Linked DNA regions of Homo sapiens: all the other regions are linked to region 4. The links are contacts of gene promoters, found by promoter capture Hi-C in blood cells and fetal thymus (Javierre and others, 2016). All regions are on one chromosome and are shown on one strand. Each heading gives the region's core, a stretch centred on a gene start or on the middle of the fragment in contact. The rest is flanking DNA. Distances are from core to core; before and after follow the strand shown.

Evidence for each region. Contacts are between HindIII fragments. The CHiCAGO score rates a contact against its expected background, and 5 or more counts as called.
Region 1: a contact is called between a fragment that was not itself captured here and the fragment with the promoter of BATF3 in region 4, in 12 of 17 cell types (megakaryocytes, M1 macrophages, M0 macrophages and 9 more). The highest score is 15.9, in megakaryocytes.
Region 2: a contact is called between a fragment that was not itself captured here and the fragment with the promoter of BATF3 in region 4, in 7 of 17 cell types (megakaryocytes, M0 macrophages, erythroblasts and 4 more). The highest score is 9.1, in megakaryocytes.
Region 3: a fragment that was not itself captured here is called in contact with the fragment with the promoter of BATF3 in region 4 in 4 of 17 cell types (M0 macrophages, M1 macrophages, M2 macrophages and 1 more); the score reaches 9.1 in M0 macrophages.

Annotation. Positions count from the first base shown.
Region 1 is chr1:212,471,389-212,477,023 of GRCh38, forward strand. It overlaps LINC02771 (long intergenic non-protein coding RNA 2771), which reads right to left and starts at 1,490. Exons shown (of 3, transcript NR_183725.1): 1 at 1,289-1,490. RefSeq lists enhancers at 194-694, 695-1,195. The HindIII fragment of the contact is 9,575 bases long and covers 1-5,635 here.
Region 2 is chr1:212,492,477-212,498,362 of GRCh38, forward strand. No RefSeq gene overlaps it. Among named protein-coding and RNA genes, the nearest start is that of LINC02771, 23 kb to the left of the region's middle. The HindIII fragment of the contact is 2,387 bases long and covers 861-3,247 here.
Region 3 is chr1:212,452,163-212,458,095 of GRCh38, forward strand. No RefSeq gene overlaps it. Among named protein-coding and RNA genes, the nearest start is that of LINC02771, 18 kb to the right of the region's middle. RefSeq lists enhancers at 551-1,370, 1,449-1,618. The HindIII fragment of the contact is 6,682 bases long and covers 388-5,933 here.
Region 4 is chr1:212,697,890-212,703,633 of GRCh38, forward strand. It overlaps BATF3 (basic leucine zipper ATF-like transcription factor 3), which reads right to left and starts at 1,951. Exons shown (of 3, transcript NM_018664.3): 1 at 1,784-1,951. The coding sequence starts at 1,873. RefSeq lists silencers at 1,249-1,698, 1,889-1,968. The HindIII fragment of the contact is 2,939 bases long and covers 258-3,196 here.

The sequences.
Region 1 (5,635 bases), core at 2,736-5,235, 220 kb before region 4:
GCTCCTCTGCTCCACCATTGACTTGTCCATGTTGGCCGAAGGCCTTCCCCAGACACCCTAGGATTGGCTTAGGGCAGGGAGGTCTCAGGCTGTGGTTCTGACTGACCACTGAGACCCCATCCCTGAACACTGGCCAAGCCCTGGGGCCGGCACTCACCTGGTTCAGAAGAACTCAAAACCCTGTTTTGTTGCCAGTTTGGAGCCAAAATAACTGTGCCCCCTCCTCCCCCATGCAGGCACTCATCCCCACCATGGCTGGAGTAATAACCAAAGCCGTTCTTGCTCAGAAGCCTTTTCTGATTTCAGAAACCTTTGTAACTTTCCCAACTTGTTGTGTTATCTTTAGATTGTAGTGATTCTTGTAAAACAAAGGGTTTGCGTACTTACCCCAAGGATAATTAATGACACTATAAGAACGTTAGTTCAGCTGTTTGCAAACCACTCCTTGTATTCATTTCAGTAACACACCTATGAATTTATATATTGGAAATCATCGCCATTCCCGCCTTCTAGAAGAGTAAAAGGGGGCTCAGGGGACAAACGTCTCTTAGTATACAATGAGTATTCTGTGAGCCTATTTCCCATGCCTGCCTCCTGGCTCTGGGAGTGCGGAGCCAGCTGCAGGCTCTGTTCCCACTGGCCCACACCCGTCTTCAGGCAGGAAGTCCCCAGGACCAGCACAGCCCCTCCCCACACAGCGGCCTTAGCAGGGAGGGGTTCAGCCCCTCCAGGCTGATCCAGGGCTCAGGGCCCAGGTGGGTCGCTGCAGCGAATCCCCTCATTGGGCTCATCATCACCCGTGCTCATAGACTGTCCCCATGTAGATTCCGCAGATGGTGAACCTTCAGCTACCAGTGTGTGCGTCCAAGACTTTTCCACAAAAACAAGACATCGCAGAAACTCTCCCCGCCCAGGTTGTGTGTCTGGGCTCCAGCCTCAGTTCCCTCAATCTGAGGTCCTGCTCCCATTGTGTGTCCCTTGAACCCTGTCCAGGAGATGGACAGAGGCTGCCTGCCTGCTCCCGTTTCCACACCCTGGCCCCAGGATGCATCCTTCTGCCTACTGGACATTAGCTGCCACTTCCACCTGCAGCAAGGAGCCACGGTCACAAACCTTAGGCCCTGGGCCCTGCCTGATGGGTGAGACCATCCTTGTTGGTGGGGTCTCAGACTTGGTACCCGTCTCTGGTCCATCCTGATTTACTTGAAGGACACAGCCATGCCTCCCTACAGGCAGCAGCCGAGCAAGGACTCTAACCCAGGTCCTTTCGTGCCAGACCCCACATTACCTTGTTCATACTGTGGCAAGGACTGTGGAGCCAGGGTCCCTCAAAGCCAGCCTTGGGGTAGAGAAGAGAGGTGAGCTATGAAGAGGTGAGACAGCAGGCAGGTCCTGTGGAAGGCAGGAGGCCTCACAGTGGGAGAAGGTCAGTGAGGGTGATGGAGAAGTGGATTTGGGGAATCAACCAGGAGGGGCCCTGTGGGGCTCTCAGACCTATGGCCACTCTGGGGCTGCCTAGAGACTGTCATAATAACCACAGTCATTATGATGATGGTAGGTAGTATTTAGTGAGCATTTACTATATGCTGAGTATTGGATTACCTGCCTTCCTGTATTACCTTATTTTATTCTCATGGTAACCTGCTGAAATAGGAGCTATTATTATCTTCTGCTTTACAGGGGAGGCCGCTGACCCTTGGGGAGGCTAAACAACCTGCCCACAGGCATTCTCTCATAAGCAGATCTGAGATGAAAGTCCAGGCTGCCTGATTCCGGGCCCCACTCTCTCTGACTTCTAGAATTATTTGCTTCTTGGAAAAAAACAAAACCACCCTGCCCAGATGGTGGGGAGTTGGGGGTGTCAGGAGTTTCAGTTTTGTAGAGGAAAGATAAGTGCATTTATGTGGTTTCCACACAGAGGCATACCTTTGATTGTAGGGTCTGGAGAGGGGCCCTTTTGGAGAAGGTCATCTTCCCTGAATGAAGACGCAGCTCTGGTTGGAGGGGCCTCTGAGAAGCAGCCAAATCAGTCCTGCTAACCCACAGGCCAGTGAGCCATGGCCAGACCACTCTCCCATTCACAGAAAGTGGGTCTGTGCCTGGGATACACGGAAGAATAAGTTCAGTACATTCAAGGCCAGGCATGGTGGCTCATGCTTGTAATCCCAGCACTTTGGCAGGCCGAGGCAGGAGGATTGCTTGGGGTATACCCGTGGGCTGCCAGCTGGTCCAAGCAATGGGTGAGAAGGTTCAAGACCAGCCTAGGCAACAAAGCAAGACCTCCAGCTCTAAAATAACAATAATAATGATAAATAAATAAATTCAATACATATGCCAGGCCTTGTTGGTTAGAGACCAATGCTTAAGAGCCTGCGGAAGAACAGCTTACGACCACTCTGTGGTTTTTCCTCCCCATTTGGCTGCCTGAGCGGTGCAGTGGGAGCTGCAGATCAGGCTTCAGTAGGCAACAGCTGAATAGGCGAGAGGGTATCTGCACACCTTCTGGCCAGTCTTGACCTCGGGTTGGGTAGCAGCGAGCCTTGGGGTTTTCATGAACAGGTGACTGGGCCAGGTGCAGTGACTCATGCCTGTAATCCCAGCACTTTGGTTGGCTGAGGTGAGAGGATCGCTTGAGGTCAGGAGTTTTGAGACCAACCTGGGCAACATAGCGAGACGCCATCTGTATTTAAAGAAAAAGAGAGAGAGAGAGAGAGAGAGAGAGAACAGGTGGCTTAAGATAGGCAGGTGAGGAGCGGGGCCCTCAGTGTGAGCCAGTTATTGTCCATGCAGCCCTTTGGCCAGCCCTAGCTCTGCTGCAGTGTCTGGATCCAAGGGCTTCCCTCATGTGCTGGCTCAGCCTGGCTCCTCTGCTCCTTCACAGGTCCGCGGATCAAAACTCTTTTTTCGTATTTCCTTGAACAAACCATAGGTTGTAAAACTGCTGCAAACAATTATTGTGAAGCCAGAGGGAGAAAATATTAAGATATGTGGTGCTTTAACTTTTTGACTGGACTCACAGTAAGAAATGTATTTTATATTGTAATCAAGTGTGTACACACACACACACACACATATACACTCAGATACACACAACTAAAACAGAAATTTTCTTGAAACAATTATTAATTGTACTATATGCAATACACTTCATGTTTTGTATTTCATTCAATTTCATTTAAATAAAATGTGATTTGAGATGCTAGTTAGTGGGTCATGAAATCAATTTAGAGACTCTCAAACTACATTAAAAAACACCAGGTTAGCTGAAGATGCTGATAGCTAGAATAACGAACAGACTGAATAGTTCATCTGTCTTGACTCCCCCTGGGACCTGAATTTTCTGAGGTCAGAGGCTGAGCCCTCCCTGTAAGTCCTAATGTGGGATCCTGCACCCATTAACCTTCTGAAAATACAGACACTATGGCAAACACCAGGACTCCAAGCAGAAAGGGGGTCCAGGGGAGAAGGCAGGAGGTGCCTGTCTTCAGAGTTAACATTTCGTTGGGATTTATTTAGCCATAAAATGACTTCCAGGGAACAGGAAACAGGTTGAATGAGGCTAGAGAACAAGATGAGGACATTAGAGGCAAAACACTCCCCAAAGCTGTTCTGAGCATCCTGAGCATTGCTGTGTGATCAGCACAAAGAGGAAGGAATAGCGAATGGTTAAGAGGATAGACTCAGGAGCCAGCTGGCCTTGGGTGGAACCTGCCTTGCTATGCCTCAATTTCCTTATTCCTATAAAATGGCGATGTAGTACTATTCAATTCTTAAGAGTTGTTACCTAATCAGTATGCCAGTTATCAATGCTAAAAAAATAAAGCAGCTGAACTGCCCACACAAATCAGGCTCCAACTCTTGCCAGCGACGGTCAAGATTTTGGGGCTCCAAGTATGTGGGCAGGTCCGTGGCTTTCTTCCACATTGTGCAGAAAGGGGAGAATGTGGGTTTCTGGGCGCAGCTTTGCAATTCCAGCAAGCCTGGCATATGTCTTAGATGAATGAATAAAGGATGAATGGGTTCTCTTTTCTCTGTCCCCACTGACATTGCTTAGCTGAGGGCAGGGCCTCAGCTACTAGACTCTCTATTCCATACTCCACACTCTTGCTAAAATGATCTTTCTAAAGTGCAAATTTGAGAATGTTTCTTTCTAGGAGGAATCCCTATATTATGCCCCTGCTTAAACCCTTGGAAGGCTTTCAATGGTCTATGATGCATTCCAAACTCCCTTCTAGGCAAAGCCTCAGGCCATCTCTCAAACCCACTCTTCTTCTTTTTTATTTATTTATTTTTTATTATACTTTAAGTTCTAAGGTACATGTGCACAACGTGCAGGTTTGCTACATAGGTATACATGTACCATATTGGTTTGCTGCACCCATCAACTTGTCATTTACATTCGGTATATCTCCTAATGCTATCCCTCCCCCAGCCCCCAACCCCCTGACAGGCCCTGGTGTGTGATGTTCCCCCGCCCTGTGTCCAAGTGTTCTCATTGTTGAGTTCCCACCTATGAGTGAGAACATGCGGTGTTTGGTTTTCTGTCCTTGTGATAGTTTGCTGAGAATGATGGTTTCCAGCTTCATCCATGTCCCTGCAAAGGACATGAACTCATTCTTTTTCATGGCTGCATAGTATTCCATGGTGTATATGTGCCACATTTTCTTTAACCAGTCTATCATTGATGGACATTTGGGTTGGCTCCAAGTCTTTGCTATTGTGAATAGTGCCACAATAAACATACGTGTGCATGTGTCTTTATAGTAGCATGATTTATAATCCTTTGGGTATATACCCAGTAATGAGATTGCTGGGTCAAATGGTCTTTCAAGTTCTAGATCCTTGAGGAATTGCCACACTGTCTTCCACAATGGTTGAACTGATTTACACCAACAGTGTAAAAGCATTCCTATTTCTCCACATCCTCTCCAGCATCTCATCTGTTGTTTCCTGACTTTTTAATGATCGCCATACTAACTGGCGTGAGATGGTATCTCATTGTGGTTTTGATTTGCATTTCTCTAATGACCAGTGATGATGAGCATTTTTTCCTGCGTGTTGGCCACATAAATGTCTTCTTTTGAGACGTATCTGTTCCATATCCTTTGCCCACTTTTTGATGGGGTTTTTTTTTTCTCATAAATTTGTTTAAGTTCTTTGTAGATTCTGGATATTAGCCCATTGTCAGATGGGTAGATTGCAAAAATTTTCTCCCATTCTGTAGGTTGCCTGTTCACTCAGATGGTAGTTTCTTTTGCTGTGCAGAAGCTCTTTAGTTTAATTAGATCCCATTTGTCTATTTTGGCTTTTGTTGCCATTGCTTTTGGTGTTTTAGTCATGAAATCCTTGCCCATGCCTATATCCTGAATGGTATTGCCTAGGTTTTCTTCTAGGGTTTTTATGGTTTTAGGCCTTACATTTAAGTCTTTAATCCATCTTGAATTAATTTTTGTGTAAGGTGTAAGGAAAGGATCCAGTTTCAGCTTTGTACATATGATTAGCCAGTTTTCCCAGCACCATTTATTAAATAGGGAATCCTTTCCCCATTTCTTTTTTATTTTTCAGGTTTGTTAAAGATCAGACGGTTGTAGATGTGTGGTGTTATTTCTGAGGCTTCTGTTCTGTTCCACTGGTC
Region 2 (5,886 bases), core at 804-3,303, 210 kb before region 4:
TGAGTTTATTCACTGCAGTATTAGATGCAATAGCAAAAAACTAGAACCAGCCTAAATGTCCATCAATGGGACATTGTTTAAATACATTATGGTTCATCCATACATTGAAATATTATATTTTTGTACAGTTCTTGAGCTAAGCATGGTTTTTACATTTTTAAATGTTTAAGGGAAAATTAAGAATAATATTTATTTATTTATACATATATTTTTGAGACGGAGTGTCACTCTGTCACCCAGACTGGACATTGCAGTGGCTATCGGCTCCCTGCAACCTCTGCCTCCCGGGTTCAAGGGATTCTCATGTCTCAGTCTCCCCAAGTAGCTGCGAATACAGGTGTGTGCCACCACACCCAGCTAATTTTTGTATTTTTAGTACAGATGGGGTTTCACCATGTTGGCCAGGCTGGTCTGGAATTCCTGACCTCAGGTGATCCACCTGCCTTGGCCTCCCAAAGTGCTAGCATTACAGGCGTGAGCCACTGCACCTGGCCAAGAATAATATTTTGTGATATATGAAAATTACATGAAATTCAAATTTCAGTGTCCATAAAAAAATTTCACAGGAACACAGCCACATTCATTAGTTTAGGTATCATCTGTGGCTGCTTTTGTACTACCATGCAGTATTGAAAAGTTGTGAGAGGAGGCCTATGGCTCTCAAAGCTGAACGTATTTTCTACCTGGCTCTTTACAGAAACCATTTGTAAGGCCTTATGCAGACATCTCTGGAAAGCTGCAGGAGAAACTAACCACAGCTGGAAAGTGAGTGTCCACAGGATAGGGTCAAAAAGGAGACTTCTTACAGCATAACTTTTGTATGTTTTGAATTTTGAATCGTGAATGTTTAACCTACTGTAAGCTTACTTTGAAATCTATTTATTTATTTTTAATTTTTTTAATTAAAAAAATAGAGATGGGTTCTTGCTATGTTGCCCAGGCTGCTCTCAAACTCCTGGCCTCAAGCGATCCTTCTGCCTCAGTCTCCCAAATTCCTGGGATTATAGCTGTGAGCCACAGCATCCAGCCCTTAATTTGAAATTTAAAAAGAAAAAAAGAAAAAGGGCCCCATTTCCCCTCTGGGACTGAAGGAAGAGGAAGAAGAGATGGAAGAAGGGGTGGCTAACTTAGTGCTGGTCTGGGTGAGGTCATGGGCCTACAGTGGAGAGGCTGCAAGGTGATCCCAGACTTGCCCTCAGCCTTGTGCTTGCTACGTGACCCAGGACATTCCCCTTCCCTGTGGGCAAGTGGTCAGTGCTGCCCATGTGCCTAGAGGCCCTGGCCCAGAAAGGGGCCAGAAGATTGGCCTCCATCTCTCTGCCTGCAGGGGAAACAAGAGAAATGGACACGTACACCCGGACTGTGGCCTCATCAGTAGCTGATAAACAAGAAGCAGAGTGGATTGGGAATGTGGAATGGTGAGAAGGACATGGACACTGGATTTTAGTTCTGCTTAGCCACCAACTGTCCCTGTGACCTTAGATTGGCCATTTTCCCTTCAGGGCCCAGCTCTATCCCTGCCAACTGGGGCCTTGACCAGAATGATGGTCCTGCAACTGCCATTCCTCTACCCCTTCCACCCACTCCCTTCTGTTTAGCCTATTGGGCATCCACTCAAGACTTCACAGAGGCCCTGGATTGAGAAAATGACAACATACAAGTCAAAACAATAGCCGGTGTGCTAAATAATCTGTAGGACACATGGTTCTGCCACTCCATAGCTCTGAGAGCCTCCCCTGGTACAAGTTCTTCAGGCAGAGAAGTCCAGGAAACACCCTTCAGACACAGGCAGAGCAGTGGGGACACCACAGCCCTGGATGATATCCAGTCTGGCAAAGCAATGGCAGGCAGGAGGTGGCGGGAGGGGTTCATGGACATGGTGGAGGGCTTCTCATGAGCAAACCCAGGTGGATGCACTAACACCCTGAGTGCTGGGAATTCATGGCTGCAGCTCCAGAAGATCCTTGAGGAAGTCCTGCTGGCGGCGAAGCCCACACGGACATGGCGTTCTGTGGAGGTCTGTCCATCTGAGCAAGGTGTGTGGCTGCATCCTCCTGGCCCTCATAGTGAGGACCAGCCAGCTCAGAGGACAGCCAACATCCTCAGAGGGTGCTAGCTATGTCCTCAAGGCTCCCTCAGGCCTGGAAGCCTTTCCTCTCCCTCTTCTCTATCAAGCCCCCATGCCTTGTTCATGACCCTGCTCAAAACTTTCCTCTTGAACCCACGAGCTAACTTGAAGGGGCTGCTGATGGCCGAAAATGAGATAGTTGGAGCCACAAAATAAATAATGATCACAATAGATTATAACTTACAGCATTTAAGGATAAAACAAGAAGTAATGAGTCTATACCAATAGAGGTAAATATTCGAATAAGCAAATAAACAGGCAAGAAGGGAGAGTTCTTCCTTAAAGCAGCATTATAATTAGTAGGAATTAGAAGGCATGATGGAAATAGAAAACACTTGGCAAACACTTACCATTATAGTTGTGTTAAGCAAGAATCATCAATGGAAACAAACACTCATGAGCGAAAATGTAGAGAAACAAGATGCTTACATTATCTCAAAGCGCCTTCCCATAAGATGGTTAGTAATTGCAAAGAGAAAAGTAGTCACTTTATAGTAGGAAAAATGTGGCAGACTCCACCTTAACCAGGTGATCAGAGTTAACATAATAAATAATAGAACATATCAACCTCATGTACCATCTGATATAATGTACCAAGAAAGGCACAACATAAACTTATGTGGTGCTCTTAAAAAATTTGGCTGAGCGTGGTGGCTCATGCCTGTAATATCAGCACTTTGGGAGGCTGAGGCAGGAGGATCGTTTGAGTCCAGAAGTTTGAGATCAGCCTGGGCAACATAGGGAGACCTTGTCTCTATAAATAATTTAAAAATTAGCCGTAGCGTGCTGTGGAGTGTGCCTGTAGTCCCAGCTGCTCAGGAGGCTGAAGTGGGAGGATCACCTGAACCTGGGAGGCGGACGTTGCAGTGAGCCAAGATCGTGCCACTGCACTGCAGCCGGGGTGACAGAGTGAGACCCTGTCTCAAAATAAATAAGTAAATAAATAAGTAAAGAAAAACATAAATAATAAATAAATAATTCACAACCTGAGGAAATACCAGCTAAACCCAAATTGAAGGACATCCTACAAAATAAGTGTCTAGTATTCTTCAAATGTTTGAAGGTCATGAAAGTGTAAGTGTAAGCTGAGGAACTATCCCAGACTAGAGGAAACAAGGAAGCTTGGCAACAAATGCTCTATGTGATCCTGGATCGGCTCCTGGTCAGATAAGGACATTTGTGGGGCAATTGACAAAATTTGAATCAGGTTTGTAGTTATGTCAATTTCCTGGTTTTGATGATGCACTGTAAACATGTAAGATGTTAACATTTGGGGAAAGTGGGTGAAGGGTATCGGGAATTTTTTGTACTATTTTTGCAGCACTTATGTAACTTAGAAATGGTTTTTGACAAAACAAAACAAAAACCTCTTCTGTCCAACTTCCCCAGAATCACTCCCACAGCTGTGTCACCAGCTACTTCACACGTTGCATTGCTATTGTTTACACATCTGTGTCCCTCAGGCTTTGAGTTCCAGGACAGGGACTCTGTTTCTTCAATCTTCAGTTTGGCCTCATTTTAGAAGTCACGTTTGGATGGAGGCTGGCTGTCCCTCTTCAGAACAACTCTCCACTCTACCCCTTCATTATCCCACAGTAAAAAGCAGCGCTGTCCACTCTGTTGCTCAGACAAAATCGTAAGGGTCACAGTTGACTCTCTTTTTGTCTCATCCCACGGTGGGTCCACCAGCAAGTCCTGTTGGAGTTCTGCCTCCAGAGTTTATCACCAACCAGATCACTTCCCTGCTCCTCCGCCAGACCCCTCATCTGAGCCTCCATCACTTTGCAGCTGAACCTGAGCCTCACCTTCCTAGCCGACTTTCCCCTGCCTCACCTTCAAGTCCACTTGGGGCAGCCAGAGGGATCTTTTCAAGGGGAAAGTAGGGTCTCACATCACTCTTTGCCTAAAACCATTCCCCGCATTGGTTTCCCAGCATGTACTATGAAAGTCCCTACCTGCTCTGGGGCCCTGCCTTCCTTCTGCCCTCAGCTTGAACCTGTCCACCCTCCCTCACCTGGCTCCAGACACACACCTTTCAGCTTTGCTGCAGATATGGCAGGTTTGTTTCCATCTCTAGGATGTGGATTTTCCCCGGCTTTTCCCACAACCATCTCCTTCCCAATATTCAGGTCTCAGCCCCAGTGTCACCTCCTCAGATAGACCTTACCCGATCTGGTAGCCAAAATCCTGCTCTTCCCCTAACACTCTTTGTCCCTATATTAGTTTGCAGTGGCTGCTGTAACAAAGTGCCACTAACTGAGTTACTTAAAAGCAACAGAACTGAACTGTGTCACAATTCTGGAGACTACAAGTCCAAGGTCAGGGTTGGTTCCCTCTGGGAGCTGTGGGGGAGAATCTGCCCCAGCCCTCTCTCCTGGCTCCTGATGGTTTGCTGGCGATCTCTGGTGTTCCTTGGCTTGTAGAAACATCGCTTCAGTCTCCACCTTTATCTTCACATGCATTCTTCTTGTGTACATGTCTGTCTCCAAATTTCTGTTTTATAAGGACACCAGTCATATTGGATTAGGGCCCACCCTACTGACTTCATTTTAATTAGATTACCTCTGTAAAAACCCTATCTTTTCATGCCACTGCACTCCAGCCTGGGCGACAGAGCGAGACTTTGTCTCAACAACAACAACAACAACAACAACAACAACAAAACCTATCTCCAAATAAGTGTACTAGGGATTCATGCAGAACCCCTAGTTTTTTTGTGGAAACATAGTTCAACCCATAACAGTCTCATTTCCATGTTACATTTAATTTACAGCCTTTATAACCATTTTGAAGTATATTGTTTACTTGTTTGTGTTCATTTCCTGTGTCCCCACACTATATCCAACATAAGCTACATGAGGACAGAAGTCTCCTCCAACCTCAGTGCTTGGTGCTTTTGCTCTGCACAGGGGGATCTAGCCTCTATTTCTACTGCATGGGTCAGGATACCTCTCTCAGGCTGCCCCAAATGAGAGGAACTAGCCCTGCCCTCACTCAGTTTCCACAAGCAGCCAATGGGATTGTTCCACATGCATTACTTAGCTCAGTGTCCAGCCAAAGGTTTGCAGCATCCAACCCTGGATCCAGCCATGAACTTCAGAGCTTCAGAAATGCCCTACATATAGTAAATGCTCAGTAAATACTTGCTGAAGGAATGAAGGCTGCATATAGTTTGGACTTTGACTCAGGTTGCGTGCCCTGCAGTCAGGGGGAACTATTAGCATAAGCTGATAGTTCCAGGCAGCCGCTGTGGAGCTAGACTGCTTGGGTCTGCGCTTGTGCTGTGAGATGTGGGCATGTTACTTATCTACTCCTTGCTTTGCTTTCTCCAACTGTAAAATGGGGACAATAATAAAAGTAATAAAAGTATCTCCGTAGTCGAGTTGTACAAAACGAGTTTACATATGCGGACAGAGTGCCTGGCTGAAGGTAGTGCTCCATGCTCACCCAGGCTTGGTCTGAAATCTGAGAAATGTCCTGGTAGCCAAAAGAACCAAAGCCCAGAGAGGCTTGTCGGGTCCATCAGGGATGCAGAAGCTCCAGGTTTCTGCTCAGGCCCCCGCTTCAGAATCCCCATCTGCCCCCAAGGAGAGAACAATTGAGCACTAGGGAGATTTTGACCATAAAAGCTTTTTTCAGTTACTAGCTGGGTGGACCTTGGGGTTTCATTGGTGCTTCTGGCTGATTGAGAAGGAAAAAGAGGATCTAACTCCTCCCACTCTTTCTGAACTCCTGAAGCGAGGTGTGGAGCTTCCAGA
Region 3 (5,933 bases), core at 2,479-4,978, 240 kb before region 4:
GTCTCAGGTTTCCCAGGTGCCCTATAGATTCTCCCAGAGTCCCAAGGGCAGTGGGAAAGCCTGCTCCTCTCTCCCAGGGGCCTTGCCCAGACTGCAGTCTTGCTGCCAGAGGCCTAATAGCTGGTGTTCTGGGTGTACCACTGTGGTGCAGTTTGTCTCACCCCCAACCCCCTGATGGTTTGGGTCTCTACAGCTTTCCACTTCCCACTGGGTTGGGCCCTAGTCCTGACTCCAGAAGTGAAGTGACTTTTGTTCCAGAAGGTGCGGTATTCACAGTCTCCCCTGGGCCTTTGCACATGCTGTTGTTCTTCTGCCTGGAATGTTCTTCCTACTTGCCCACATTGCATGTAAAACCCTATCTTGGCTTAGATATTACTTCCTCAAGGAAGCTTTCTCAGACCTCTCCCTGCCAAGGTGGGCACACAGTACCTGACTTGCCCCTGCGGTATCAGATCTCACTGAACTGTAATTGTATTTACTTTGTGTTTTCCTCCCCACCAGGCGGGGACGCACTTGCCCCATTCACAACTGTATCACGTAGCACAAGCCCAGCACCTTTGATGTGAGATAAAAATGAATGCATTGGCAAATGGACACGTGGTGAATGAATGAATGAGGCGATGGATTGGTGCTCCCTCACCCAGGGCACATGCCTTCCTTGCAGCCCTCTTTCACCCCTTACTCAGGGGTGTGCATCTGATTCCTGAAGCATCAGAGCGGCTCCCCACCCTCCAGCCAAGTTTCCAGCAGAGCCTGCCTGGGCATCGCTTCCAGGATTACTCCTGGACCAACTTCGCCTGAGCATTTCTGCAGCTTCATCATCTGGGGAATGTATAAAAATAGTAAGTGGTTCCCCTGGCAACCACCACAGCAAATGGTAACTAGGGTGGGCGGTCCAGGAAAGCCTCGAGGCTGGGAGGAAAACAAACGCCGCCCTCACTGCTCACTCTCCAAATCTTGGCTGGCCAGCGTGCCCTCTGAGCTGCCTCTCCTAGTCTCATGGCTTCCTGGAGACCACCTGCTCTGAAGCCCAAAGGAAAATAATGGGCTGGAGGAGCTGCCCCATCAGCCCAGACCATCCGCCCCGTCAGTCCCTGGGCTGCTGCCCCTGCGCCCTCTCTGTAGGGTCACCAAGGGCCTCTTCTGGCTGCCCTGCCCTGTCCAGTGCCTTATCTGGGTAGTCAGAGGACTTCAGAAGCTGCCAGCGGGAGACTCAGCCTTGCTGCCAGGGTCTAATATCGTGTGTGCATGTGTGGACCCCTTGTGCTGGGCTGACCAAGCCCCTTCACGACAGTTTGGTCTCTGCCCAGGTCTTCAGCTTCCCTGCCCTCCAGCCGGGCTCATGGCCTAGCTCTTGCAAGTTTACCCCTCCACCAAAGTTTAGTGTAGGTGCTGCCCAAGGCTCAGATCTTGTCACCACTACCTCCTCTCTGGGATGATTAGAGGGCATGGGGCTTCTGCATGCTAAACCCTTGGGGTGACAGTTGGGAGCACGGGCTGGGAGGGTGCTGGGAAGGCATTGCCAAGCTGGCTGCAAACCGTCCACAGGAAGCCAGGCTCTAGGAGATCCTGAGAGAGGGAAAATCCAGCAGCTGAGACACTAAGCGGGGCTGGAGGCAGAACCTGGAGCGAGTGTGACCCTGAGGTGTCAGGGAGCGGAAGCCTAAGGTCTCCAGTGGGTGGCTGGTGGGTGCAGCTATTTCAGAGTAGCCTGATCAGCCAGGCTGCTGCTGTCTTTTCCCTGTGTGTGAGCCAGGCTTTTGCTCCCCTGCTGTCCCCCCGCCCCCTTGGCTGCAGTTACCTCTACCCTGTCCTTGCCTCTCCCAGCTGAAGCCTACTTCCTGCCTCACTGCCCCTGCCCCTGCCTCTTGTCCAAGTCGGTGCTGATGGTCATTGCAATAGCGGCACTGGGCTAGCATGAGCCAGGTGCTGGCATGCCATGTTTGCGGCTTAATTTATTCTCTTCAAGGTGGTACTAACATTTGGTTGGGTCTTAGGAAGCATAAGTAACTTGCAAGGGAAACTACACCTCTGACAACTGAGAGGTGCTGGAGCTGAGATTCCAAGGCAAGTCTTCCTTCCAGCCTGGCCACTTTCCATTCTGCCCTGTTGTGCTTCAAGATCGAGCCTTCCAGGGAGCTCCACCCCAGGGCCATTGGAATTAGGATGTGGCATGCCGAGCTGGTGGCAGAGACTCTAAAATCATAGCCAGGGAAGGTACCTGGAGGTCCTGTGGAGAGAGACTCTACTTCTGTGTGTGTGTGTGTGTGTATGTGTGTGTCTGTCTGTCTCTCTGTCTCCCAGGCTGGAGTGCAATGGTGCAAACTGCAACCTCTGCCTCCTGGGTTCAAGTGATTCTCCTGCCTCAGCCTCCCAAGTAGCTGGGATTACAGGCACCTGCCACCACACCCGGCTAATTTTTTTACTTTTAGTAAAGACAGAGTTTCACTATGTTGGCCAGGGTGGTCTTGAACTCCTGATCTCAAGTAATCCTCCTGCCTCGGCCTGCCAAAGTGCTGGGATTGTAGGCATGTGCCACTACACCTGGCCTTGTTTTGCTTTTTTTTTTTTTTTTTTTTTTTAACACATAGTTTAATCCTTTAGTTAACAAGTATTTCTTGTGCTCTAGTCTTCACAGAATTCTGTGGTGAACAAGACCTGCTGTCATTTGAGAGAGGCTCTCTCGGACTAAGGATGTGTGATACAGGCTCAGGGTACTAAGCCCCATGGCATCACCCAGAGGGAGGTCGTGGGACCCAGGCCCACCTGTGGGAGCTCAGAGCCTGCTGGTGGCAGCTGCAAGCCACCCCAAAGATAGGAGAGGTCATAGTGGCTGTGGTGGCCGGTGATGCCCACCTGGAGGCCATGTGAGCTGTGGCTGGGACTCCCTTGTCTAATCTCCCCCATATTTCTGGATTTGGCCTCCACATTGAGGAATCTCTTACTACTCAGGATCCCTGAAATACATCTGTTGCCTTCCTGCCTGAGCCCTCTCACTTCTTCCCCTTTCCCGTTTATCCATGACCCTCCCCTTAACTGTCACTCATAACCTCTGTCTGATTCACACCACTGCACTCTCTCTGCCATTCCTTCAAAGATCAAGCAGTTTCCTTCTGTTAAACAAAATGTATGGGAGGCCATTATTTGGACTGACCTCCTGCATTAGGGTCCAACAGACCCATCCAAAATGGAGTCACTCACACTAAGGTTCCGCACCACGAAACCAAAAACGAAGCTGTTTACTTGGATCTGAGCTTCTGAGAAATCAGGAGAGAGTTGATAGTCATATCCCATTAGGCTAACAAGATCCTCAATAAGGAAAGTAACTTTGAAACGGCCAATCTGCATCTTATTTCTTGTTTTGGCTTTCTTCAGCCTTTTCTGCCTATAAGCTCAGCCCTTAGCTCAGCTCATGGGAGTTCCTTTTTATTTTGTAGACTGGATACTGCCCAGTTCATGAATTGCTAATAAAGGCAAACTAGACCTTTACAGCTCAATTTATTGAAATTTTGTTATTTGATACGTCCCACAATTTAACAATTGCACCTGATTTCACATATCCATTAATCAACAAAGGAGATGCATATTTCTTGCTTATTATATGTCCAGCACTGCCCTAGGTCCTGGTTTTGGGGTGAGGTGGGAGGAAGGATCGATTAAAATAAATGCAGGAACCTGCTCTGCTCTTAAGGGTCCCCAAAGAGGAGAGCAGTGGGCTGAGTTGCAAAGTGGTTTCTCTAGGACCAGGAGCTGTGGAGATCCACAGGGATCCCAGCCACAGAGTCCCCAGCAAGGCAGGCTTGGGGTAGGAGCTTGCTGAAGGGTGTTGGTTTTTTCTTGGACACTTCTGTCCTGGTCCGACCCACCAGCAGCTGCCTGCATGGGACGACAGTGCCCCCTGGTGGTCAATTCCGGGAACTCTCCAGCAGCTGTTTTGTAAAGCCCAGAGGATTAAGCTCCCTCAAGAACTTCTATTTTTGGTTCCCAGTATTTCCATAATGAAATGCTAACAGAAGCAGCCAAATGGCTTCCCAAAGGACCTGAAAGCTGCACTGCCGAACTCCTGTGTTCTCCAGCTCTCTGCTTCCCAGGGGTCAGATCTGCTGTTGGTTCTCAGGGGCAGTTCTCTGTTCCATACGGTTTAATTAAAGGGTCCCAGGGAGAGCAACTATATGTTTGCCTTGCCGAGTCTGACCTCAGGCTGTGTGCACATTCAGAGTGACGTGTTGGAAAGAACACTGGATCCAGGATCAGGAGGCTCATCCCACGCCAGCCGCTAAGTAGCTGTGAGATAATAATTTCAATAATAGCTACATTTTATTCAGTATTTACTCTGAGCCAGACATTGCACCAAGAGCTTCACATACATTGTTGACTTTGATCCTCACAACAAGCCTGTGAGATTGATACTGCTGTCATCTCCAGAAATCGAGGCAGAGAGAAGTCAAGTAACTTGGCCAAGATCATACAGTATGTGGCAGAGTTAGGACTTGAGTTCATGTTTCTGGGCATCCACTATGCTACACTGAACTGTGGAACTCAAAGAATCGGAAACTAGTGGTAGTGTCCAGACACTGATGTTTTTAAATGTTCCCCAGGTGATGGTGATGTGGAGCCACCTTTGTAATCTATAGGGTCCCACCAGCTATAACACTCAATGAGCCCCATGCCTTCCAAGAAGCAGAGGTGAAGTTGGGATGAGGGGAGAAGCCTGGGTTCAGGCCCTAATCTCCATGGATGTACAGGGCTGAACAGAGTCACAAGCACAGCAGAAACACCATGATGGCAGAGCAGTCATCCTGCCTGCTGTCCTCTTTATCTGGAGATGGTTTGTAGGACAGGAGAGCAATTGCCTTCCACAACATTCCTCAGAGTTCGTTATGTCGCATACACCCCAATCTACAGATCCATCACCTGTCCATTTATCTCAATGCCTCTAGAGCCATTTTCTATTTTTTAATAGATTCATTTGACAAACACTTGAGACTTATGATGTGCCAGGCCCTGAGTCTGCAGGGGTGGAAGAAGCTGGCATGGCCCCACTCTTGTGAGTTGGCAATCTAGAGGAGGAGATAGACAGACAGCACATTTTGGAAAAAAAAAAAGCACACTGTGACACATGCTCTGAACGACACAGCAATGCACAGTGGTGGAAAACAATAGGAGAGCAGAGGGACCTAATAAGACAGAATGAGCTGGGATTAAGCAGAGACCAGAAGAATGTGTTTAGTGTGTGCCTCCTGTTGGTAAATGAGCTCTGTTGTGTTCACTACACACTGGGCAGTTTGGTGCAGAGCTTGCTTTTCCCTGGGCCTCTACTGGAGTCCCCTCCAGGAGACATGGGGTGGCTGCTGTTGACATTTTCTCCCTGAAAGCCCAGGTATCTCTCCAGAGATGGAGAACTCTGAGCTTCCTTTTTACAGAAAGGACTCAAACTGGTGGCTGTTTGGGGATGGGACGATGATGGGTGATGTTTGAGGCCGGAGTTTCAGAATCAGAAAAGTCTCTGTAGTCAAGGCCTTGAGGTTTGCTGACTTTGCGTGACACCCAAAGCGTAGGACCCACAATCAAATCTGTGGAGAGGGCGCTTGTGGTCCATGTGTAGGTGTATACCTGTGAGCATAGGCAAGTGTGCGTGCACACATGTGTGCATGAGAGCAGGCTCAGGCTTCAGCTCCTGGTCACTCTAGTCCTTCTTCTATTCTCTCTTCTTTGATGGTAGGGCTGGGACTTGGCAAACCACTTTTGGCTTTGGCAGCTGCTTCCTATCGGATTCAGCCAGTAGGGGGTGCTAGAAGGACACTGGAAAGCTGGAGGGAAGCCCTCTTTTTCTTGTTTACTTCTGTTCTTGTAAGCGGCTCCGGTAGTACTTCTTCACCCCGGCAGCAGCAGTTCCTTACCATAGCAGCAGCTAAATTCAGTTTACAATCTTT
Region 4 (5,744 bases), core at 701-3,200:
CCAAGCGGGAAAAATACCACACTTACAGAGTTTAAGAGCCAAGAGGTACAAACAAGGAAAACTACTCAGTTATTAATATTCACGGAATGCAAATATTAATAACACAAAAAAGGATATTTTCAGTTATCATTTGATCTCATCTTGTATTCCACATAAGACACACATCTTCCCAAGTTACTGCAGGTAAGAAGTTTCAGATATGCAAGAATATAAAGGCATAAAAAGGAGAGGAATAAATAACATACATAGCAAATAGAAGCTTAAGGGAACAAAGTATGATAATACAGTCTTCTAGAGAGGCAAAGAAGTCTTGATAAACAAAACCAGAACATTACAGGGGAACATGTGGTTAGAAGACAGCTCTTTAGCTTTAGAATCACACAGATCCTAGTTTTGTCTCTTAGTGTCAACATGGTCTTGTGTAAATGGTTTAAATTCTCTAAATTTTCAGTTTTCTCATTTATTGTAAGCATAATTCATTCATTCTTTCAATATGTATTAACTGAGCACCTACCATGTGCCAGACACTGTTCTAGACACTGGGGATACAAGCCCTAAACAAAGGGTCAGTGAACTCTGCAGACTTGGTGCTAACAGCCTAATGCTTAGGATTGGGATGCGATGAAATGAGATTTTGTCCTAAAGCTCCCAGCATACAGTATGCCCTCAAGAAGTTACCTGCCTTTGTTGAAGTTGCTACTTTAAAAAAAAATGTATTCTGCATAGTGCTTCTCATGCCTCTTTGCTCTCTGTAATCAAAAAGTCACTAGCACAAGAAAGCAGCCTGCATACTGCCCTCGGGGAGCTGACTCTAAACTGGACTCATCACCATGATCACACCTGCCAACCCAGCAGAAACATTTAATCAAGACAGAAAGAGGTGAGCGAAAGTTAGAGATAGTATTATGTTATTAACCATATCTGATTCAGTCTCAAAAATCCTGAGAGGTTGATGTTACTATATTCATTTTACAGATGGGGAAATGGACGGTCCGAGAGGTTAAACAAATTGCTCAAGGCTGCTCAGCCTGTGTGTGGCAAAGCCCAGGCCCAAACTCAGATCTCTGTGACACTCCAGCGACACCTGATGACATGGGCCGGGCGCTGAATTGGGAAGGTGGGGAGTAAGGATGAAAAGACCCAGTCTTCGTCGTAAGGCAGGTGGCCAAGACCCAGGCAAAGTTTCCAGACGGCCGTCCCTGTGGCCAACCTGGTCTCCTTCCTGACTGCGCCGCTGTAAACGTTGCTAGGGGACAGCGAACTGGGAAGGGGCAAAGGGTTTCCACCAGCTGGGGGCGGAGTCGGCCCTTTGTGGGTTCCCTCCGCCCAGGCTGACTAGTCCGGCGTTCTCCATTCCCGCGGCAGCACCCCCCCCACCCGGGGGAATCCTGGAGGGGCTACAGGCGCGGGTGGTGGGGTGGCAGTCGCTGGCTGCGCCAGGATGGGGCGGCCCTCAGGGCAGTGCGGAGCCCACGTGCCGGGGAGCACCGGCCATGCCCGGCCCAGCCAGGCGTCGGCGCCCTCGGGCTTCTTCCCCCAGAGGGCGCAGGAGCTGGCTCAGGAGCCATTCCAGGAGCCGCGGACACTGTGCGCACGACAGGGTCCCTGGATCGCCCCCATTCCCCAACATCCCTACGCCCCTACCTCTGCTTGTCTCCGGCCGCACCCGCCACCTCTGCACCTCCGCAGTCACCACCACGGAACTCCAGCACCCACCTCCTCGCCCCCCGCGGCGCGCCGGTCCCCGCACCCCACGGCCCTCCCTGAGCCTCTCGCCCTCTACCTGCTGCTGCGGCTGCGGCTGCGGCTGGTTCCCGGGCGCCGCGACGCTCCTCTGCAGGACGCTGCCGGCGGCCGGGAGCCCTTGCGACATGCCGGGCGCTCCTCTGGCCCGGCCCGCCCCGCCCCGCCCGCGCGCCCTGCCCGTGGGGCTGCCTACGGGCGCTGTCCCGCCGCCGGCATCCTCGTGCCGCACCCACGGCCTCGCGCCGGCCCCGCCCCCTCAGGCTTCCCGCTCTCCCCGCTACTCCACGCGTCGGCCCAGTGTCCCCGCGCGCCAGTCCCGGCAGCCGTCCTTCCCGTCCCACGTCTGCCCCGCCCTCCTTCTCCCACCCCCGCCTCGTTTCCTCCTCTGCCCGCCCTCTCTCCGCACCTCGGGGTCCCAAATCCCACCCCTGCCGCGGCTTTCCGCCGGCGCCCCGCGCTTCGTGGAAGTCACGTGGTGGCTCTGAAACCCCGGAGGGAACGCGAAGCCCACCCACGCGAGGCGACGCCCGGGGGGGTGGGGACCAGGGGGGCGCCATGCAGCCTTTGGGGTCCTTCGGCGGCTGCCGGGGAACTCAGGTTGAGAAACACAGTGGGTGTTTTGGGGTCGGTGTTTTTTCCCGGTCCCATCGCGGCATCTTCCTGCGCCTCAGCCACGCCCTGCGTCCGCCCCCCGGCGCGGGGGTCACAGTCCCGGGGGACTTTCTCCGCGGCGATCAGTCATCCGGGCGCCACTCTCGCTCCTCCAGCGGCCCCGAAGCCGCGGCTCTGGGGTGAAGACGCCGGCTTCACCGAGTCCCACCGCGCACCCCGAGCCACGGGCGCCCCAGGGACTCTGCAGGGAGTGCCTGCCCTTCCCGTCTCGGGTCCGCCGGGCTGTGGGAGGGAACGAGGCGGGGCGGCCCCGAGGGTGAATTCCCGGAGCGGAGGGTGGGCATGGGGAGGATGTCCCGGACAAAAACGGTGACGGGCTTCCCTGAGAGCGAATCTGCCACGTGGGACGTCACTAGTGACAGGTTTGGGGATCTGGACCCGCCATGCCACGGTTAAACGGCCCAGATCATTTTTCTTTTTCAAGATTTATCTGCTCGTGCCAAGCTGGGGACCGGGTTGAGGTAGGGCAAGTCCCTGTCCACCTGCCTGCCAGTCAAAAGATGCGAAGCCAAGACAATTACCCGTGGTCCTAGCGAAGGAAACACTAGCGGCCACAGGCTGTGGTCTGCATGCTGTGAGCACCGGGAAAGATAACCGCGATTCGGGATGGGCGGGTGGGAACCAGACCAGAAGGGCAGAAGTGCCTACCAAGTGTGGTCGCTTGGGTCTTCAGGTTTGTGGGCAGCAGTGGGCATGGGGACAGTCATTTCCGATTCCTTTTTAAGTCTTAAATGAGTGCACGTGCCCCCCGCCAGGATTTAAGACCCACTCTTGCAAAAGCTTTGAGAGAGCTTGAGTGAACTTGGCTGCCTGGAGGCCAGCGGGAAAGCGAGCGGAGATTCTTGTCTGTGTGATCAGAAGCTTCGGCCAACTGAGAGGCGGGGAGGAAGACGGAGGGTGGACGCAGCCCTTTAGAGTTGCAGCGCCACACTCCACAGCAGCAAGGCTGCGCAGCAGAGCCAGCGCTACGCTGGGTTATCTGCCCGGATTAATCTTTTCCTCTCCGTTATTTCATCACTCAGCTTAACTGGTGGTTGCCCCAGGACTATTTTGCATCCCACAAGGTACCCACACAAGGTGCCTAGCATAGCACGCTACATACACTCAACAGGTGCTCAGTATATGTATTGCACTAGGTCAGCTGAAAGCTCTCATTCCTGAAGCACTAAAAGGGCTCTAACGAGCTAGGAAAACATCTGGGTCAAGGGGTTATCATTTTCAGAAGTGATTTCATTCCCCAGTGTTTTTTATGCACAGAAAAGGCAAGGTAGAAACACCTCGGGAACATTCCCGTGCACTCCTACACTTTATTCTGGTCATGCCCACTTTTCTCACTGAACCACATCACATTTTAAGTCCTTTGGGGCTGCTGCTTCCCTGTCTCTCCCCAGGGAGCCTGAAACCATGTCCCAGCACACACGAACTCTTTATATAGGCATAGTCTACTGTCTTGTGTTACGCAAGGGTTTCTTCAAATACATTTAGTCTTGGTTAACTAGGTAGCATTTAGGGCAGAGATCAATTTGATGTAAAGATCATACATCAAAATGAATGGATTAAATAGCTAGATACAGAAATGAAAATCAGAGAGCTAAAGCAGAATTAAATTCTTATTTAAGTCATGGAAGCATAGGCAACATAGTGAGACCCCCAACTCTACCAAAAATTAAAAGAAATCAACTAGCTGAGTGTGGTGGTGCACACCTGTAGTCCCAGCTACTCAGGACGCTGAGGCAGGAGGATCACTTAAGCTCAGGAGTTTGAGGCTGCAATGAGCTATGATTGCACCACTGCACTCCAGCCTCCAGGGCAACAGAGCAAGACCTTATCTCAAATAAATAAAATAAAGTTGTGGAGATAAGATAAGGAAAGGATCTTATAAGAATACATGTAATAGGAGAAATTGACTTGATAAGATCTGAACTATATAAAAGGGCTAAATTGTTTTAGATGACAGTATAACCAGGAATGTAAAACAAACAGATTGGATAAATACAGTGCATATGAGAAAGGGTTAATATACAGCCCACGAAAAAGAAGAAGAAGAATATTGAGACAACCCGCAAAGGTAAATTGCAGAAGGGATATGAAATGGCATTTCCCAGCAGAAGAAATAATCAAGGAAAATAGGTATAGGAAAATATATATTAAAATAAGAACCCTTTTTAAGTTAGCAAAATAAAAAGTAATATCAAATGCTGGGGAGAGTATGGTGAAATTGGTACTCACATGTTTCACTGGCTTCATTGTAAATTGGCACAAACCTGCTGGAAAGCAGTTTTACTGTCACTTTCAAGAACCATAAAAGAGTCATCACTTTTGACTCAATTTTCCTACTGCTAGAAAATCATCCTAGAAACATCATTGAAAATACTAGGGAGAAAAATACTATATGCACTAGAAGTTCATAATAACATTTTAAGAGTGAAAAATGTAAGCAACATAAATGTCCGATTATAGTTGAATGGCTAAACAGAATATGTTATTGCCACAGGATAGAATGTTATGCATCTTTAAAATTACAAGCATGCAGGCTGGATGCAGTGGCTCTCACCTGTAGTCCCAGCTACTCTAGAGGCTGAAGTGGGAGGATCATTTGAGCCTAGGAGTGCAAGGCTGCAGTGAGCCATGATTGCACCACTGAGTTCCAGTCTGAGCAACAGAGTGATACCCTGTCTCTTAAAAAAAAAATTACAAACATGCAGACAAATTTGCCACTTGGAATGTTTATTTGATCTGAAGTAGAGTGAGAAAAATCAGGATACAAAAAGTACATATATGACATGAACAGTATGTACGAATGTATGCATATGAGAAAAGATTGGAAGAAAACGTACCCTGATGGTAGCCTTTCTCTTATAATGGTGGCATTATAATTTCTTTTACCTGTACTTGTTGAAAAATGGTTTTTATTATGTTAGCATCTTAAAACATTTCATATGTATAAGTGATATAAATATATTTGTATGGCACTAAGCTCACTGGCCTCACCAGAATGCCAGCACTTCTCTGATCAAGTGGTTTGCTCTAATAACAGACTTTTCCTTGCTTTTCTGTAATATCTTCTCGTTTGTTTTATTCTCTTTAGTCAGAAGGAGAAAGAAAAATGAAAGTAAAGAAAAGATAAACAAGAAGAAGCATTTCAAATGTCTCCTTTTCTTCAGCCTTTTATTTTCTTTTTATTTGTATTATTTTCCTTGAACTGGGAAGAGAAATTATATGATTTGGCAATTTCCGATTAATACCACAATTACCCTGGATTACATCTTTGGGGAGGGGGTAGGAGGTGCAAGAGGTTTATAGCTCAGTGACCAAATCCTCTGGTG